7 separate regions of the Homo sapiens genome follow, and all the other regions are linked to region 1. The links are contacts of gene promoters, found by promoter capture Hi-C in blood cells and fetal thymus (Javierre and others, 2016). All regions are on one chromosome and are shown on one strand. The core of a region is centred on a gene start or on the middle of the fragment in contact, and the rest is flanking DNA. Distances in the headings are between cores, read along the strand shown.

The links. The method cuts DNA at HindIII sites, captures the fragments that hold promoters and counts their contacts. A CHiCAGO score of 5 or more calls a contact.
Region 2: a fragment that was not itself captured here is called in contact with the fragment with the promoter of HOXD-AS2 in region 1 in 2 of 17 cell types (endothelial precursors and fetal thymus); the score reaches 7.3 in endothelial precursors.
Region 3: a fragment that was not itself captured here is called in contact with the fragment with the promoter of HOXD-AS2 in region 1 in 4 of 17 cell types (endothelial precursors, fetal thymus, megakaryocytes and 1 more); the score reaches 12.3 in endothelial precursors.
Region 4: a fragment that was not itself captured here is called in contact with the fragment with the promoter of HOXD-AS2 in region 1 in 1 of 17 cell types (endothelial precursors); the score reaches 7.2 in endothelial precursors.
Region 5: a contact is called between a fragment that was not itself captured here and the fragment with the promoter of HOXD-AS2 in region 1, in 1 of 17 cell types (megakaryocytes). The highest score is 7.2, in megakaryocytes.
Region 6: a fragment that was not itself captured here is called in contact with the fragment with the promoter of HOXD-AS2 in region 1 in 1 of 17 cell types (megakaryocytes); the score reaches 6.8 in megakaryocytes.
Region 7: a fragment that was not itself captured here is called in contact with the fragment with the promoter of HOXD-AS2 in region 1 in 1 of 17 cell types (endothelial precursors); the score reaches 10.5 in endothelial precursors.

Annotation. Positions count from the first base shown.
Region 1 is chr2:176,135,771-176,138,533 of GRCh38, forward strand. HOXD-AS2 (HOXD cluster antisense RNA 2) reads right to left here and starts at 1,328. Exons shown (of 3, transcript NR_038435.1): 1 at 851-1,328. It overlaps LOC401021 (a long non-coding RNA gene), which reads left to right and starts at 842. Exons shown (of 2, transcript NR_148241.1): 1 at 842-1,229. The HindIII fragment of the contact is 4,739 bases long and covers 1-2,763 here.
Region 2 is chr2:176,585,837-176,588,599 of GRCh38, forward strand. LOC124907910 (a long non-coding RNA gene) reads left to right here. Exons shown (of 2, transcript XR_007087314.1): 1 at 1-256; 2 at 2,083-2,763. Among named protein-coding and RNA genes, the nearest start is that of MIR1246, 14 kb to the right of the region's middle. The HindIII fragment of the contact is 2,651 bases long and covers 36-2,686 here.
Region 3 is chr2:176,569,404-176,572,166 of GRCh38, forward strand. No RefSeq gene overlaps it. Among named protein-coding and RNA genes, the nearest start is that of MIR1246, 30 kb to the right of the region's middle. The HindIII fragment of the contact is 2,662 bases long and covers 12-2,673 here.
Region 4 is chr2:176,528,641-176,531,403 of GRCh38, forward strand. No RefSeq gene overlaps it. Among named protein-coding and RNA genes, the nearest start is that of NRAL, 22 kb to the left of the region's middle. The HindIII fragment of the contact is 212 bases long and covers 1,242-1,453 here.
Region 5 is chr2:176,479,792-176,482,554 of GRCh38, forward strand. No RefSeq gene overlaps it. Among named protein-coding and RNA genes, the nearest start is that of NRAL, 27 kb to the right of the region's middle. The HindIII fragment of the contact is 2,872 bases long and covers 1-2,763 here.
Region 6 is chr2:176,431,745-176,434,507 of GRCh38, forward strand. No RefSeq gene overlaps it. Among named protein-coding and RNA genes, the nearest start is that of NRAL, 75 kb to the right of the region's middle. The HindIII fragment of the contact is 208 bases long and covers 1,324-1,531 here.
Region 7 is chr2:176,414,581-176,417,343 of GRCh38, forward strand. No RefSeq gene overlaps it. Among named protein-coding and RNA genes, the nearest start is that of NRAL, 92 kb to the right of the region's middle. The HindIII fragment of the contact is 2,201 bases long and covers 331-2,531 here.

The DNA.
Region 1 (2,763 bases), core at 78-2,577:
CATTTGAAGCCTTTAAGCTGGTTGGTGATTATCCTACTGCAGAACCTCCCGGGAATGGGAGGGACCCCAATTTATGTTGGAGTGGTGTGTTGGGGGCACATTTTCTTGGCCTGCAGATCCCTCGTTTTCTTCCCAAGGTAACTGGGGCTGGCTTGCAAGATGAGAGGGAGGAGGGGAAACCGAAAGTGGTTGGCTGCCTCTGGGGACAGGCCTTTTCCTGAGGGGAGAGGAGGAGAAGCCAAGTGACTAGCACAGGGTGAGAGATGGGAGGAGGTAGCTGTGGGGATCGCTTCCCCAGAGCGTGAGCAGTACATTGAGTTCATTTCCCTCCTTCACGATGGCCAACTGCGCAGAGGTTTTGAGCCAAACCAAAGAAAAGAACACACACACACACACACACACACACACACACACACACGCACACACACAAATAAATCCTAGAAAAAGAAACAGAGGAGGCGGGGAGGGAGGGAAGAACCACGAAGGGAAGAAAAAGGGAAAGGTGAAGAGGGACAGAGAAAGAGAAGGGAGGAAGGAGAGAGAGAATGGAGAGAGAGAGGAGGAGGAGAAGGAAGAGAGGAGGCGGGGGAGAGAGAAAGCAGAAGAGGAAAAAACATGGCGCTTGCGAGCTGTATGTGCAAAATCCGCAAGGAATTGCAGTAAATTCCTTTTTGTTTGAAGAAAATTTACAACTTGGTAATAGACCTTTTTATGACCTATTTGCGGTCGTCATTGGCTGCGGCTGGTCATGTGCAGGCGCCGCTCGCCTTCACGGCCTTTTTCCTGATTTCCCCGGCGAATTTCCCCCCGCATTCTGCTTTCCCAGAGCCTCACCCCCTCTTTTTCTAACCTTTGTCTCTGCAGAGGTGGGCTCCAGTCACCGGCTGCGGGATTGCGGAGTCCGCCGCGGCCTCGGCTCCCGCCCGGCGCCCGGCCTGGCCCCACCGCCGCTCACTCGGTCCGCATCGCCGCCACCTCCGGAGCTGGTGGGGAGCCCGGCGAGGGAGGGCCTGGAAGGGGCCCTGGGCGCCGAGTCCCCCGCCGGCGCCGACACCGCCTGCCAGGAGCAGCCGGCCTGCTCGAGGTGACTGCAGCCGCGCGGTTCTGGCGCGGCTTCTTCACCAACATGAGCGGGTCTCTGCGTCCGAGAGTGAGCGCAGCCGGGCAGCGCCTAGTGGATTACAGCAGACGCCCGGACCGACCGCCGCCTGTAGCTCGGCAGCCTTCGGGTAAGAATCGCCCCCTCCCCGCTCCCCAGCATGCCACCAAGAAGCCTGGGGCGCCGACCCCCTTGGGCAGCTCAGTCCGGCTGCTCCCCTACATTTCCCGGGGAAGTGGGGGGTCGCTGTCTAAGCCCCTTCCCCCAATCACTTCGTTCCTAGGGCGTCCCCTGGGGCCTGGGGTGGAGTCCGGCTGGGTTCAGAAGTCTAAGGGGGCAGTATTATTTCAAAAATTCTGAGATACGGGTAGCCACAGACAGGATCCCACTGCCTAGATGGAGAGCCCCTCAATCCTACCCTAGGAAAGTGTATAGACGGGTTACTACTGAACATCTCCACTTTGCTGGGGGTCACTAAAGGCATTTTATATAGAGCTGTGGTTTTTGTGGTTTACCTGTGGCCGTGGCCAGAGGTTCCTGGGAGGCTAACAGGTGTTTTTTGAGGGTTGGGGCTTGGGTGGGGGTGGGGTGAATTCTCTGTTTCTAGGATGTGCTTGGTGTTTGAATCTAGGCTTTAGTGACTGATGCTGGTTAATTTCTAGGGTTGATGGTTTATTGGGCCTTGTGTTGTATGAGATGGAATTTTAAATATTTTTAAATGTTTCTCTAGTTCTTAGAGAAATTTTTAAGCAACTCAAGATAGGCTCTTCCCGCATATGATAATCCGTCAGGTGAATTTGGATTCTTTTATATCACAAAATGAATCCATGTTTTGGGAGGTAATGGTATCAGAATATATGGTGCAGGTCTTGGTAAAAACCCAATAGATCTTTGAGAAATACAAGACATCTCTGTGTTGAAACATCGTGTGTTTCTTATTTGCCAGAGTAGGAAAAGAGTAGATCTTTTTGCTCTCTAAATGTATTGATGGGTTGTGTTTTTTTTCCCACCTGCTAATAAATATTACATTGCAACATTCTTCCCTCAACTTCAAAACTGCTGAACTGAAACAATATGCATAAAAGAAAATCCTTTGCAGAAGAAAAAAAGCTATTTTCTCCCACTGATTTTGAATGGCACTTGCGGATGCAGTTCGCAAATCCTATTGCCTATTCCCTCATGAACATTGTGAAATGAAACCTTTGGACAGTCTGCCGCATTGCGCATGAGACTGCCTGCGCAAGGCAAGGGTATGGTTCCCAAAGCACCCAGTGGTAAATCCTAACTTATTATTCCCTTAAAATTCCAATGTAACAACGTGGGCCATAAAAGAGTTTCTGAACAAAACATGTCATCTTTGTGGAAAGGTGTTTTTCGTAATTAATGATGGAATCATGCTCATTTCAAAATGGAGGTCCACGATTTGTGGCCAGCTGATGCCTGCAAATTATCCTGGATCACTAACTCTGATCACTTACAAATAAGAAACTTGAGTGATTGTTATTTTATTTGGAGTGTTTGTATTTTGTAATTATTTCTCTACTACAGTACAATGACCTTTGAGGTCATTCTTTGATCGGGGTAAAAAACATTCCCCATTGAAAAGCAGGCACCTGGATAGTGGCTTCTAGGCCCTGCCAGGTAGATTCGGAGCAGGAAGAGTC
Region 2 (2,763 bases), core at 111-2,610, 450 kb after region 1:
CTCTAAAGTACTTTAAAGAAAGCTATATAGAGTAAAGCTTATCATTTGCAGCTGTTAAAGAGGAATGCCTGCAATGTGAGCAGCCCAGTTTGAAGATAATGGATTTATGAGTTGCAGGAAGCAAAATGTGTGATCGCTTGGGCCAGAATCTGTTAAGTATCATGTTGCTATTTCTCCCCTTTCTTCCCCATCTTAGGTCACATCTCAAATATGAACATCACCCAGAGGTTACCCAGGTGATCCCAGGCCATCTCGGGTATGCAGCTGTGCAGAACTTGATCTTGAAGGACAGATGGCATTAGGGGGAGTTCTTTTATACCTTGCACTGACCAGGGCTAAGTTTCTGACATTTCTGTCTGCAGACAACAAAAGGCTTTCATCATGAGCTGCTTTCTGATGCGTGCTTAAAACCAAGTTGAACGCATTAAAAGGGCGAAGAAGCAGAAATCTACTCGCTGTGCTCTGTGAAGAATTAAATAAAATTTTGATGGGGGTCGAAGGAAGGAGAAATAGATTTTAAAAAATCTTTATGCTCTCTCCTCCAAAAACTTGGATTTAATGTGTATTTTGGGCTAATTCTAATTCTCCATTCATGCCAATACACATTAAATCCTATATTTTCTTTAAAAATAGACATTTTAAATAAAATGTTTAATGCAAATTACATTTAGCTGAGTTTGATCTCCCTTTCTGATTCGAATAATATTATGATTCTTGCAAGCCCAAACCTTCCCTTAGCAAAATTTAATGTTACCGGGATGCGGTATGCTTTCATGAATTCCCCTCCAAATTTTTCCTTTTTCAGCTAGAATATTTTCTCAGACCTCCTTCTCTCTAATGTTACTAAAATCCTTTGAAGTATTATCTAATTACAGAACTAAGACTTAACCATGTCCTTTTCAGGAAACTTAAAATAACTCTTTTATCCTTCTAATTTAGTACTTTATTCCACCATATATCCACACCAGTCCTTCTGACCCATCATATTTCTGAAAAGTACAAGGCAACATTTCTGAAATTTAGTTATTAATTGTATTACATAGAGGCTATATGCGTGAGTGAAAAAAATAGTGTTATAATAACTAACATTGCTTGAGTTACACGACTGTCCCAGGAATTATTCTAAGTGCTTTATGTGCATTTTTCATGTAATCATCACAATAATCTGGAGGAGATAGATCATATTCTTATTATCATCCCCATTTTCCAGATGATAAAGCTAAGGCACAAAGAAATCATGAGACTTTTGTAAGATCACAGGACAAGTCAGTAAAGGCAGGATTCGAACTCAGGTTGTCTGGTTGGATCATTCACATTTTTATCCACTTTTCCATGCTTCTCAGAGTGATCTTACCATTTGTTTTGAAAGCTCTATTCAAGGCAGTGTGTAGGGTGGATAGGACACTGGACCAAAGACCAGAAGATGGGCCTTTAACCTGATTTTTTTTCATGAATTGGTTGCGTAAACTTGGACAAATCAACACCTCTGGAAAAAACAGTAGGCAGAATTCATCACATTAAGTCCTTTTATAAGCATCTTATTTATTTTCAGTAAATAATGCTGTCAGTGGGAGGCCATCTAAGCAGGGCCTTTAGGATCAATATTGAATGCGGATTCTAGGGTGAGACACTCTGGTTGACACAAGGCTGTGGTTGATGTGGGACTTCTGGGTTGAATCCCTACTCTGCCTCTTACCAGATGTGAGATAGACAAGTTAATCACACTGCCAGAGCTTCTGTTTCCTCATCTATAAAATTCAGATAATAAAAAACGTTCACCTGAGAGAGTTGTTGAGGATACTTGAAGAGTTAACCTTAAAACACTTAGCACAGCATCCATATGCTTTGCTGTGTGATCCTGTGAGGTTACTATTACCAGCTCCATTATACAAATGAATAAACTGAGGCAAGGCCTAGAGAAGTTAAATAACTTGTCCAAAGTCATTCGTCTTGTAAGTGGTGGAGTCAGCATCCTAACTCAGGCAGATGAGCTTTCAATGAACACACCATCTTTCTCCCAGGACTAGGAGGAAACTTTATGTTATCTATTACCTGACTGTTTACTAACTGTTTGTTTTCCAGGATGTCCTCCACATTCCACAATTCAGTAGCCAAAGGATTGAACTGATACCTGCAGAAGACTTCCTGGATTCCCTCTCCAAGACCCACAATCCACTATGATTGGATAAGGCCTACCCTCTAATTGATCAGTACTACACACACACACACACACACACACACACACACTCACTCACCAAGGCTTGGTTTCCTTTTCTAAAAAACAAAAGAGGGTAAAGGAATGCCCTCCCAAGTCTCTTTCTAAAATTTTCAAGTTCTACAGGCTCAGTAGGCATCCAGCCTCTCAGCACTACCCTATGTCCCCTATGCCCACGTAGATAAACTTGTTTTAATAAAAGCTAACTTCCGATTTAGCACACAGTATTAAGAATTAAAGTTGGATGAAGCTATTACTGTTACGAATAGCCTTGGGCTATTTTTCAATTCACCTATGTCATACGTCAAGTGATTAAGAAAATCAAATGCTGTATCCAGGAAAATAGAACATGAAAAGGCAGGAATAATGTGTGTCTTTAGGACACCCATTTGAACACAAAAGAATTAGGGCCCAAATTTCACTATATGTCAAATGTGAATTTATTTCTATAAAAGGCTTCAGAACTCTCTAAGCTTTGCATTGTCTGAAGAGTGCTACAGAGCCATCTGTGACTTGTAGTGGTTGCATCCAGATCTTTGAAAATGCTT
Region 3 (2,763 bases), core at 93-2,592, 430 kb after region 1:
TCTGTCTTCCAAGCTTGGTGTGAGAGATAATTGGCCACAATTTCTTGAACACATATATTGGAAACTATGACCCCAATAACAATTTCTGATTCATCTGCATTAAAGATTTTCCCCTTTCCAATACAACAAATTAAAAATGTTGTACAATCATTCCACATTGTAACTATGGAAAGCCTGGAACATTATATGAGTGGTAGAAAACAAATCAATTGACATTACCAAATGAGCACAGTCAAAACCCCCTTATCCTTTTTTATTAAGCTGGACAGACTGGCTAATGAAGGTCTGGGGCACTGGGCTCTGACAACTCAAGGAAGCCACCATTAGCAAACAAACATCTGCTTGCTTCCCTCTGCGGTCCCTGCCAGCTGCGGCCGAGGCACAGTAAATTAGTCTGCTAATTCTATTGGCTTGTTCCTGCATTTCTCTAATGTGGAATATTGATCTGTGCTGGGGAGCCTTGGCTTGCAAAGTTCCTAAAGGTGCAAGTGGGCAATGTCTGATATTTTTTAACACCAGGAAAACCTATGGTATGGGGGAACTGTTGCTGAAGTGGAATGATACCCAATGATGAAAACTGGGAGGAGAAAAGCTAAGGTTGAAAACAATTCAGTTCATTGAGCGAGTCTCCTTTAAAGGTAAAACAGTGGGAATCACATAAGAAAATGATCACCCTTTTAGTCGTTAGTGGAAGGCAGGATGATTTTGACCCATTTTAAAGGATGGTGGAAATGAAATAGGAAAATATAGTCTATCTTTATTGATTATTTGATGTTGAAATTCTACTCAAAAGAAAAAAATAAAACCTCTATAACAGATACCTGTCTTGATTTTTAGAGGCACCAGGGTATATTGGCTGAGATCTCAGATTCAAGGATCCCCTACTACCTTAGTAGTGTGATGTACGTAAGGTTGTTTCCTCATCTCTAAATGGCAATGATAACACATAGACTTGTGAGAATGAAATTTTGCCTGGAGATCACCTATCACAGCCCCAGGCACATTGTTGGATTAACTTTCAGGGCACTATATTTTTCATACAGAAATCTTATAGACAGTGGATGTACTCCTCTGCAGATTTGTTTGAGAAAAACAGAATAGGTGTTTGAAACCGGTTCTCCACTGAGAAGATATCACCCACCAGTACCCTACAGAGTTTACTAAGCACCGACTTCTCTGGCTGGATGGGGTATGAGAAAGTATACCCTGAAGGAAATTAACCCACATATGTAAGGCCAGTGGCAATAATACAATCAGGCATTCAGAAGTTATCAGATTGCTTACAAAGTGTGAGGGGCTTTACATGAGCTCCTGCTCCCCGCCCCACTCTTAAACCTCCTTCCCTAATTTAATAGCTATTGAATTTCAAAGAATTATTCTGTGTGTCTTTCTGGTTATTTTAAATCCTACTGCTGTCCCTGGCAGAATGGGATGTGGAAACAAAATTCAGGTTATCTTTCAAAAATAAAGCTGACATTGATCTCAAGCAGATATTCAGGTGGGATGTCCTCACCTCTAAGGACAGCTGGCTTCTGTTCAGTGTGGTTTTTCTGTAAGGTAACCAAAACTTCAGAACACTGAAAATTGTGGGGCATCTCAGAAGGTTTAGTAGAACCTCAGCTCCCTCCTTTCTGAGTTCTTAACTATTGACTTTAAAATAAATGTTTTGGGAACTACCTTTTTGTTATGTGGGGGAAAAGCCCTGTGTGAGGCACTAATTTAATCCACACAACACTCCAAGATAGATACTATTATGCCTATTGTATGGTAGGGACAGTAAAGCTCAGAGAAATTAATGCATCCAATTGTCTAAGAATTCACAGCTAGTAAAGTAGTAGAACTGAAATGGGATACATACATGTCCATTTGATTTCAAAAACTATCCTAAATTGCCTACACTATAACATATATTACAATAAATGAACCTTATGAAATTGCTAAAGTTCAACCAATTTTGACCTACAAAATGGCAGTTTCATATACTACAACCAAATGCTTCATTTGACCATGGCATATGTTTCATTTGACTTACAGTATTGATCGAAACTTTTTGTATTGATATTACATATCCAAAAAGGAATGCAATTAAATGTATTTGAAGACTTTAGTTCCATTCTTCTCATTTTTCTGCTGCAAAATACCAGAGGAATCTGACTGATCCTATGTCAATGATTCATACATTACTTGACGTTTCCCAATAATTTTGTAATTAATCTTTGTATTTTTTTATCAGTTTCATTGTGACCTGACCAACTGAGCTTACAATTGTGTTTCCCTCTTGGCTGCTGAACTTCAACACATTTTGCCATTATGACTTTTATATTAGTTTTCATTTCTTTCTATTCTCAGTTCAGCAATATTGCTGGAGTAATTATTGTTCTTTATACCTTCCAAACATGAGTATATTTTTAAAAACATAAATTAGATGAAACTGTATTAAATTCTCTGGGATCTAGAACATATTCTCAAGGGGGATGAAATCCACTAAAATTATATGTACCTAAGATACGCTGGTAATATTTTGCTAGAAAAATTCTTTGTTAGCATAAAATGGTAAAATATATTACATACAGTATATACATATATAGATAGATGTTTGAACATATAAACAATTTATTTAATAATATTTATTATCTATGTTTCAAACTTACTAATTAATGTGTTGGCTTTCTAAGCTTTTCTCCTTTCTTCCCCAATAATTCTGAATCTACCTTTGTCACTATGATTAGGTAGTCCTTTATAAAAACATTTCACCATTCTGCC
Region 4 (2,763 bases), core at 98-2,597, 390 kb after region 1:
TCTAGAGGGCTTGTGAAAACATGATTGCTGTTCCCAGCCCCAGAGTTTCTGATTCAGTAGGTCTGGGATGGGGTCTAGAAATCTGCATTTCTAACAAGTTCACAGGTTATGTCACTGGTCCAGGGACCACACTTTGAGAACAACTGTGTAACCCACTGGATGAAAGTTAAACATGATAATTGTGTAAAACACAGGGTGCGGTGAACTAGTCATTTTGACTGCAAGAAAAAGTTATATTTAACTTGTTAGAGGTTCAAAGTTTAACTCTTTATAAAGCCTGATGAATTATTGCATTTTTATAAATAGTATTGATTAGTGGAGATTCCACATGTAATTATTTCATTTCTGCAACCTATATATTTTTATAATGAAAAAGATAAAACTCACACCTTAACCATGTTCTGGTCTTACTTTGGGTCTCTTGCTCTTTCACTGCTGTAAGGGGAGAATTAATAGATTTGTCATAAGACATTGGAAGGAAAGATGAGCTGGAAAGGTATCATCTTAGATTGCCATGAATGAAATCACATTCCATTCTTCCACTACCCCCTCCGTCCTCCTCCCATACCCTCCTGGAATCTAGACCCAGTGATGGAGGATCACCCTAACAATGCAGCGTTCCCTCTCGTCTGCAGAGAACACAAAACAATCCATGTTCCACTGGCTGTTTGTCTGTCCCTTCCCTCTCCCTGCGTTGCCCCAGTGCTGGGCAATGAGACATGGCATGGCCTCATAGCAGACTCAAGAATCCTGGGAGTGAGTTCCACATGGACTTAAAATCATTAAACAGATTTCTTCCTCCTTTTCCTCTCTCCTTCCCTATCTCCCTCCTTTCTTTCTCTTTCTCTTTCCTTTTTTCCTATATTTGAACATTAAATGTCATAGGGATATAGTATCCATTTTGCAATACTGGCAACTGACACCTCTTTAAAAGAAACTCTAGAACCCAATCCTATTTGCCTGATTCTAAAAAAGAAGTTCTAGCACAGTATTCAGGCATATTCTACTCACAAAAATAGCCCTGGTGCACATGCAACAAATAGAAGCTATGTAAATAACACATGGAGTTGAATGTGTTATATCTAATTACAAATTTATGGACTCCTAATTTTCAAAAAGCTTAACCATTACATTGTACTCTACTTCTTCCTGTGGTAGACCACTTGGGATTTCAATGCCTCTTCATCTGGGAGAAATGGGAGTGAATGTGAGCTGCAGGGGCTTGTGGAGGTGCTGGGGAAAGCTTACCCGAGTGATAGGCTTGTTGAATGGTAAATTTTGTTACCAAGGAAGGAAGTCTATGGAACCTCTTTTCTGAAGATTCCAGGGAATGTTCTAAATGCAGCACTGGACCAGAGACAGCAGACTGGACCAAATGACCTCCAAAGGATCCTTTCAAGACTGTGATTTTGTGAATGTTTTTTTTATACCAATCTACTCATTGCTTCCTAGAAGCTTATGAAGCTCCACACATCTTCTCCACTGCATAGTTAACTGCCATGAAGTCTTTTACAAGCATTTCTAATAACATACCCACTCCAGAGAAGCAGAGCCCATCACAGTCAAAAATGGCTATGACTTACAGCAACCTTTGAGATAGGAGCTCTCAATTGGTATTTAAATTTAAATACCACATCATAATTCAGGATGCTAAATCAGTGTGTAAAAAAGGATCAATACACAATAAAACTACAAGCAAGACTGGCATAGACCGCACAGCTTCTTTTTCCATCTAAACGCTCCCAACTTGTCTCCAGATCTGCTTGACACTGCCTCATTTGACATTACTTAGTCCATAAAACTTTACACATTTATAATGGGCAACAATAAGACTGGGCAGTTATCGTGGCATAAAAATGGGAGAAAGAAGTTTCCAGATCATCAAATATGGACATCGTTTTCTAGCCAAATGCTTTATTAATGATAAATTAGCAGTCCCAAATGAACACAGGTGTGATAAAATATCTACTTCATTGACAGGTTTTTATTATGAACTGTACTTACAGGCTTAAATTGAAAAGACCCATCTCCACAAACCACTTCCACATTTTGAATAATGTTTCACTTGTGATAGGTAAATAGGAGGCATTTTAGGAACATTTCAATAAATCTCATTTGGAGTGAGACTGATTTTTCTTAAGTAGACAAAGTTGGGTTGGAAGACTTATAAAAATAGATTGATTATTTCCTGGTGCCATAAGAAAAGAAAACCGCAATAAGTACTTTGCTGCTGACATTTTGAAAATCTTACATCCTATAGCTTGTTTGACTTCATTAGATTATACTAAATATTAGGAAGGTGCAGAGGAATGGTGAAGAAATGAAACTAGAGAACAAGGATGTATTTGCCTAAAAAAACTGGAAGGAAAAAATGAATTCTTTTCATTGAACCACTATCTGTTCCTTTCCATCCTACTTATGAGACAAGTCAGTCAACAGCTATTTACAAGACATGGAAGCTTAGAATTACATTGCTTTAAAGTATGAGGACTTCAATATTATGGCCTAACAACTAGCCAGTATCTTTTTCAACACAAGAGTAAGCAGTCTGGCAGATCTCTGGAGTTCTAAACCAACAGATCAAGTTCCCCCCTTGGTTGTTTAGGCCTCTATAAAGAAAGAAATGCAATCCAATAATGACGATATTGGCAGTGGAGAAACACACCCAAACCCCTATTAAAGCTAATTCAGAGAGACTTCCTGTACCCTGTAATGATATTTCAAGGCATCTTTTTTGACTTGTGGTGGATTCAAATGTATGTA
Region 5 (2,763 bases), core at 96-2,595, 340 kb after region 1:
CTGAGCACAAATCACTAGTAGTGGGTGGTAGAAGAAGTCAGTTTTGAATTAAAAATTTGTCTTAGATAATCCACTGAGCCAAGAATATGCATTTAGATGTTACAGAGTTGCTCGTATTTCAATTTTTTAAGGCATTAAGAAAATACTCAAAATTGAGAGAGATGTTTTTGGATCATTAAAACTACTTAGTATCAATAAGAAATACAAATAAAAAAAACTCACCTTATTACTTATTGCATTATACTTGATTCCCTCCCATGTCCCCCTCTTGAAATTACAGCTGGTTAACAGATGGCAGACACTAAGATTGCACAAAGAAGCAGTCACACGCACACATGCATCCTCTTAATGAGGCCCCCACTTCTTAGGGTGTCCAGTGAAGACTACTGGCTGAGAAAGACCCAATTGGCAGTCTTCTGTCAGAGCTAATGTGGAAAGGGGAGGGTTTGGGGATACATTAACTCTGTATGTGTGTCCCACAAGACCAGTGGCTAAGTCACATGTTCAAAGTTCTAACATAGTGGAGCCTTCTCTGAATGTTCTGTGTTGTTGTTGTGTTTTTTTTTTTGTTTTTTTTTTTTGTTTTGTTTTGTTCTGAGACACGGTCTTACTCTGTCACCCAGGCTGGGGTGCAGTGGCGTGATCGTGGCTCAATGTAGCCTCGGTCTTCCAGGTCCAGGGGATCCTCCTACCTCAGCCTCCAAGTAGCTAGGACTACAGGCGCATACCACCACACCCAGCTAATTTTTGTATTTTTTTTTTTTTTTTTTTTGTAGAGACAAGGTTTTGCCACATTGCCTAGGCTGGTCTTGAACTCAGAGCTCAAGCGGTCCACCCACCTCGGCCTCCTGAAGTGTTGGGATTACAGGTGCGAGCCATTGCGCCAGGACTGAATGTCTATATTCTTGAAGGAGACCTTCTGGGGCATGTTGAGTAGGGAAGTGACAAGACCAAGTTGAAAAGACTGTTCTTGCTGCAGTGAGGAGAGTGAACTTTTTAATGGCTGTGCAGAGGAAGGTTGGGGGTGCGTGGGGGTGGATGGCTACTGAGGCAAGAGGGGAAGCATGGAGACTCATAGCTGGCTCTTGTGGTGGTTCAGATGAGGGATGATACAGCTTGATCTAGAGAAGTGCCCAGATTCCAGAAAAAGTAGAGTTGAATCAACAGGACATGGTGATTAATTGGCAGTATGAGCGCAAGAGAGAGAGAGGTCTCAAGGAAAGCTCCCAGGTTCCTGGCTTAAACATCTGGTTGGGTAAAGCCATTCATAAAAATGCGGGAAATTCAAATAGGTGGAAGTTGGTAGGAGACAATCAAGAAGTCCATGTTGGACATGTTAAGTGTGAGATATCAGTAAAATATTCAGGTGGAAATGCCAGGGAGACCACCTGGAGCTCAGAGGCGAAGTATAGAGAGAGTGCTGGAGACTTCTGTTTTAGGACGTTTTATGTCTTTCAAAGCACTTATATTAATTTAATCTCAGTCACATAACAATCTCTTTATGAGCTCAGCAGAGGAGATATTGTTATCCTACATTTCACAGGTGAAAATTGAAACAAAAAGACATTCAGAGACTTTGCCAAGTTCACATCCCCTGATCCAAGGACATCCTATGGGATATGGTAATGTGATCTTGTTCTTCCATCTCAAAGTCTTACTGATTGGTTTAGTCTGATTTGAGACTTGCTTTCTAGTTTTCTACAAGTGGATCAAGAAGCAGGGTTTTTCCTCTTTAAAGAGCATCCCAGATTCCATAAGTATTAAAGGGCCACAAGTCAACTTTATTGCTGTCTCTTGTCTCTTGAGGTCCAATGAAGAAAGAAAAGGGATTATTTTCAGCTCAAAAAGAGTTCAAGGCCACCCATGGTTCCCATCAACCCTGACAGAGTAGGTACTGCAGAAATGATGGCAAAGGTACAGCCTATGGTTCTGCAGAAAACTGTTGTGTGTGTGTGTGTGTATGTGTGCACGCCTAGTGCATGGAGGGACAGTGCTATCATCCGTTGGGTCCCAGCAGGAACAACAGTAGACCTGTAGATTAAGAGTTTGTTCTGTTGCCTCAGGCAGTTGGTCTTCAGGCTCTCACTCTTGCGGGGCATCTGGGTGTCATCCTAACTTATCACGAGTGTCTGGGCATCCAGGAGTTCAACTACCTAGACATAAAACCCGTCAGTTCTTTTAAAACATCCAGCTAAAAGTCAGTCACATTTCAAACCTATCTTTGGAGGCTGTAAGAACCCCTTATTATAACCAAGATGCAATAGGCTTAAATTTTTGAGGGAAAAACCTGGTGACCAGACAGTCTTAAGAAAAAGTGGGGTTTGCTTAGGGAACTCGATGCCCCAGGGATGTACATGTCTCAGAAACCAGGGCCAACTTCAGGTTCCTTTGCTCCTTTTCTCTAGCCAAGGTTCGTCTAGCTTTAAACATATTTTTCTCTGTGCATATTTGAACACTCCCTTGTCCTTTCAGCTCCAACATACTTTTTTTCTCCTTTCATTAACTTGACATTAAACATGTCTTCCCTCAGCTGCTACACAGACTCTATTTTCAGTAGGAGAAGGTGAACATTGCTGCACTTTGGGTTCAACTAACATCTTGAACTATTTTTCAGATGTTGTGCGTAAACCCAAACCCTAAATAACTTTAGCTGAATACTTTCCCTTTATTTTTTATAGCCTCAATATGTATATAAAGGGAAATATATCCCACATGGTTCTGATTTTATTTATTCCCAATTCCTCAAGAGGTTATTTTCTGAGA
Region 6 (2,763 bases), core at 178-2,677, 300 kb after region 1:
CAATAGCTACATGTATGATGACAACAGCAGTACACCAAAATTTACTTATTCATTTCCCAATTTGGGGCTTCTTCTTCTTCTTCTTTTTTTTTTTTAAAAAAAAAACTTGTATAAGTGGGATTGCTAGAAACATCTCTGTACAAGTAGCTTTGTTTTCTTTGAAATATTTTCCTGGGCATATGCTACTCAAAGTGGGTTAGTATGTCAAAAGATAGATTGATTATTGTGCTCTTATTATATTCTTTTAGCCCTTCTTTAAGGAAGGGCTAAAGAGGCAATAGAGAACAAAAGCCTCCCTTTTAAGAATATAATCCAGCAGTTGCTAACATCTCATTTGCTCCCTTTGGAATTTAGTAACATGGTCTTCATTAGCAGGAGTGGGGGCTGGGAAGGAGGATCTCTAGTGACTATGTGCTCAGTTAAAACCCATGTTGAGATGGAGTGCAGAGAGTGTATTCTACCATGAAAAGCAGGACAGAATGGAGAAGGGAGTTTTTCCCATTATCTGCAACACTTTCTCTGTGAAGTTTTTCCTGTCATCCTTAGGCAGAAGTAGTTTCTCTCTCTGCTGGGTCCCATATTTATGGTAAATAATTTTTGCACATCCTTTTCTGTCTTGAGTCTGCTCTGCTTGAGGACAAGCATAGTGCTTCCTTCCTCTTGGAATTTACCATCTTATTTCATACTTTTATGGATACTACATTCATTTTTCAGTATCAGACATTATCTAGCACGTTGACATCTCCCTTAGAAGGTGAAGTTCTAAGTCTGTTTCACCTTCTTCCCATAATACACACACCCATCTTATGTCTTCACCCACTCGATATAGTTATACAGTAATTTTATTTATGTCAACATTGTGTTGTGTTTAAATAATTATGACCATGTAAATCCTTGTTTATGTATTGAGCAAGCAATTATGACTAATGCTTGCTCATGTGCTGTAGTGTAATATAATAAAATTTCCCATCCTGTCCAGTATTTTGTTTTCCCTGGAGTTTATAGTTATGCTTGTTTTTAATAAATTATTGTTAAGTATCTATGTAGTTATCACTGAATTCAATCCTAACTTTATCCAAATTGTACAAATATCCTTTTAAAATGTTTAAACACATTAAGCATAAATTACATCTTCTTGAAGAATACACGCCTTCTGATATGCTCTAAATGGGACTGTTTTCTAGGCCTGCCAAATAGCTATTATCTTCCCTTGCTATCCCTCAACTCTTTTTTGTATCGGTTCCCTTGTTTTTGAGGTCCCGTTTCCTGGTTTATTCCCTCCTCTCCCCCCGCCCTTTTTTTTGGTAGAACATACCCTCCAGAAGCTTCTTGAGAAAGGATTTATGAGAAGTAAGATTTGAGACCTTGTTGATCTGAAAAAAATATCTTTATTCTACTCTCATACTTAAATGAGAGTTTGGCTGGATACATAAAGTTGGAAATACTTTTCCTTCAGAATTTTAAAGGGATTACTTCATTGCCTTCTAGAATTTGGTGTTGCTCTCAAGAATTCAGATGCTGTTCTTCTTGAAGCTTCTCAACCATTTTGCTTTCATTTCTCTGGAATAGTCTAGGATCTTTTCTTTGTCCTCAGTGTTCTGAAATTTCATGACAATATACCTTGATATGAATCTGTTCTCTTCTGGGTAACTAGTAGGACTTTTCATTCTGAAAATTTATGTACTTCACTTGTTCAAATTGTTGTTGAATTATTATTTTGATTTTTTTCTTCTCAGTTTCCTTTTTGTTTCTCTTTGTAATTCCTATTATTTGGATTTTAGACTTCTTAGCCTGGTCCTCTGATTTTCTTACATCTGTCTTATTTTACTTCATATTTTATTTCTGCTCTAATTTCTGATTTTCAAATGTTTTATTGTTTTTTCCATTTCTGTTATCACATTTTAAATTTACTTAGAAATGAAAGGCTTATTTAAAAATGTTATATGTGTTTTTTAAAGATTTTTTCCTTCTTGCAAAAATCTTTATTTTCTTCAACTTTCTTTTTATTCTGCTTGTTTGTTTCAGCCTCCTTTTTTCATATTATGGGCTGTCATGCCTGGTGACCCTTGGCTATTTGCTCATTTTAAAATTAAGGCCAGTAAGCCTGGGTGTGGTGGCTTAACGCCTGTAATCCCAGCACTTTGGGAGGCTGAGGCAGGCAGATCACTTGAGGTCAGGAGTTCAAGACCAGCCTAGCCAACATGGTGAATCCCTGTCTCTACTGAAAACACAAAGATTAGCCAGGTGTGGTGGTGGGCACCTGTAATCTCAGCTACTCGGGAGGCTGAAGTAGGAGAATCACTTGAGCCCTGGAGTCAGAGGTTGCAGTGAGCGGAGATCATGCCATCCACTCCAGCCTGGGTGACAGAGTGAGACTCTGTCGCACCAAAAAAAAAAAGATTAGGGCCAGTAAAAACCTCTGTGTATGTGTGCAGGGCCTGTGGACTAGATGCAGAAACAAATGAGTTATATGGGTCAGAGCTGGGTAACACAACATGAGGGAGAAATAAACCTTTATTGTTGTAAGTCACTGAGATTTGGGCATTCTTTCTAATGACAGCAAAACACAGCTGAGGAACACAAGGGTTCAAGACCCTTTTCTTTTATAAGAGTGGCCTCCAAATATTTTTTAAAATCACCCTTTATTGAAGTATAACTGATATATAACAAGTTGCACTCATTTAAATTGTACCACTCCAGTTTTAATGGATGTGTGCACATGGGAAACCACTTTCATAATCCAGATACAGAACGTTCCTATTA
Region 7 (2,763 bases), core at 181-2,680, 280 kb after region 1:
AAAACAAGAACAGTTTTTAAAAATTCTGACACGTCCCAGAAAGTTCTAATTGTGTCAGATTTTAAATAATTTTTTTTCTTTCACAGATAACATATATTTCACAAACATACACATGATTCACTAGATGTTTATGATCATATTTTGGTGGGATGGAGGCCTGAGAAGCAAATCACATGAATATCTTTAAGCATATTACTGTAGTTACCGACTTCTGGGAACATGAACTGAGGTATTACTCATGATGCAAAAGTAACATGACTTTCCTGTTTTTGCTGCTAGTTTCCTATTAAACAATTGCTGCTGGCAGCCATAATAATGTTGTGAACATAAAGCTTTCTTCGTCTAACATTCCTGACAAGTGCTTGATTGTCCAGAAAAAGCCATCTGTATGTATCTGAAATCTTGTAGGATGCTATGTGTCACTATTTTTTCACAAAGAAATGTCTGCATCGGGGTGTAGGTGGTCTCTAATGCATTTCTTTAAGTGTTGATTTCTTTATAGCCAGTCACAAGCAGATGCCCCAAATGAGTAAACCAGTATTGAATCCTTGAACCACCAGTCCTATTAGCCATGGGGTGGATGAGCTTCCAAGTACAAAGGAGAGGGCAAAAGTGGGATCCTTTCTTCCTCAGACTCAATAATTCTCTTGAAGTGGTGGTTTAACAGGTGGAAAATGATGTGAAACTTTAAGAACAACAAGTCAAATGCATGGCGAGGCTCCAGGGATTTGTAAAGGGATATGGACGTTTCTAGTGCAGATTACCAGGTCATCAGTTCAAATGCAGCTGTGCTTAGCTATCACTAAACATGGTTATGCATGATGACTGCCTGGGTCTGTTGTGAAGTGGGGTGGTGCTCTTGGTTCCCTAGTAGACAGCTGGGGAGCTGAAAACCCAGCTAAGAGGACCACGATTTCAATTGGCACTCATGGAAATTTGAACTCACCAGGAGACCCAGGCTTGCTGAACCCTCAACTCTCTACCTTCTTAAAGCATCTCCTGGGCTCTGCAAGCTCAGGACGTGTGCTGAAATAAAGCACATCCTGTGACTGTGTGAATGGCATTAATTCTGTCAGCCCAGAGAAAATCTTTCATGCATGGATCCAGCTGGCCGGTAATCGAGCCGGTGAATAGAGGACTTGGCTTCCCAGTTTGACTTCTTGTCTCTGAAAAAGTCACACAGTTCTGAATTTCCTCCAGGCCCCTGTCTCACCCCAAAGTGCCAAGAGGTGTCCCAGGAATTACCTCCAAGAGTGTCATGGTGCAGTCCTTGGATGCGGCTCAGTTGCAGTAGGATTTGTGTAAATGTATATACCATGTTCACAGAATCTCCAATTCTGTCACACATTTTTTAGGACTATGACTGTGTTGGAACCCAGGAGCCAGGGCTCAGCTTCCCATGAAATAACGAACAGTTTTTAAAAGACAGGAAAGTAATCACATCTTTGGTAGTCAGGTTAGGATTATGCTATTCAAGCCAGCTCTGCGCAGAGACAATAGCAGCTGCTGGGTTCCCTGTAGTTGGAGAAACAGACAAGCGGAATGCTGTCTTTCTATGATCCCCATGCCTGCTCTGACATCCATCCCAGACCAAAGAGTCTAGGGGCTGGCAGAGGCAGCTGTGGCTAGGCAGAAAGAGCAACAGTTTGGGGTTTTAGAACATTGAGTTACAGTCTTTGATCTGCCAAGAATAATCCTGGCTAGTCCCATAGCCTCTTTAGAACCTCAGTTCCCCCATCTATAGCCTTTCTATTGCACTAGAAAGGCTTCTGATGTGGTTTCCAACATGCTATTTTAAAAACAATTTGAATCCTTCAGAAGACAGGGCTATAAAAATAGAAGTAATTATGACCTAAGCCACCAATAGTAATTAAATTAAATAGGCTCATAGTGAATGAACAAAAATTTATTTGTTGTGTAGAAACCTGAGGATGTGTTTATAAAGTTTAAAAAGCAAAACCCATACTGGCATTTAAATAAAGATTGCTCTGTAAAACGTGTGCATGTGACAAAGACTGCACAGAAAACGGTGAAAGTGGCCATGTGAGTGGGAGAAACACAGGTGTGGTTTTTATTTTATATAAATTTGTTCTAACATTTTATTTGTTGCACCCATTATTTTTTTCAACAACTAAAAACAAACTTCCAAAGTGCTTTTATCTTTAAATTTACTTTATGGAGGTAGTCACACTGCCTTTAGAAAAACTTTATTAGACTGCACTTACTACATTATCTAGAAAATAACACATTTATATGCCTATAGATTCATCTGCCCCCCAAAACCACACAAAACAAAAAATATAGATGTCTGGTTTTGTCTTTCTCTATAAATAAAAGGAGGCAGAGACAGTAAATATAGAAAGGTGGCATGTTACATTACCATAACACACCAGAAACCCAAGGTGAGGATAAAAGTGCTATTTATCAACCCACTGAGAGCTATGATTCTGTGGATTTTCATGTCTTCAGTGTTACTGGAGCTTAGATAATTCCAGAATTTTATTCTTTATCTTAGAACTTCATCTTTGGAAAGCTTTTTAGTAAAACTAGGAGGTAGAGTAAAGAAGGTATGAGCCTGATGGGGAACAAAGATAAATGAGTGAAACATGTGGAGTATCCATACTCCAAATAGAAACAGAAGGCAGGGGAAATTTCAAATTCAAAGGGAATACTAAGTGTCAAGATACTCATCACTTCCACATTCATGTACTTGTTTGCAACCCTAGCTCAGGCAACACCACCTGATTTCTGTTTAGTATCTTT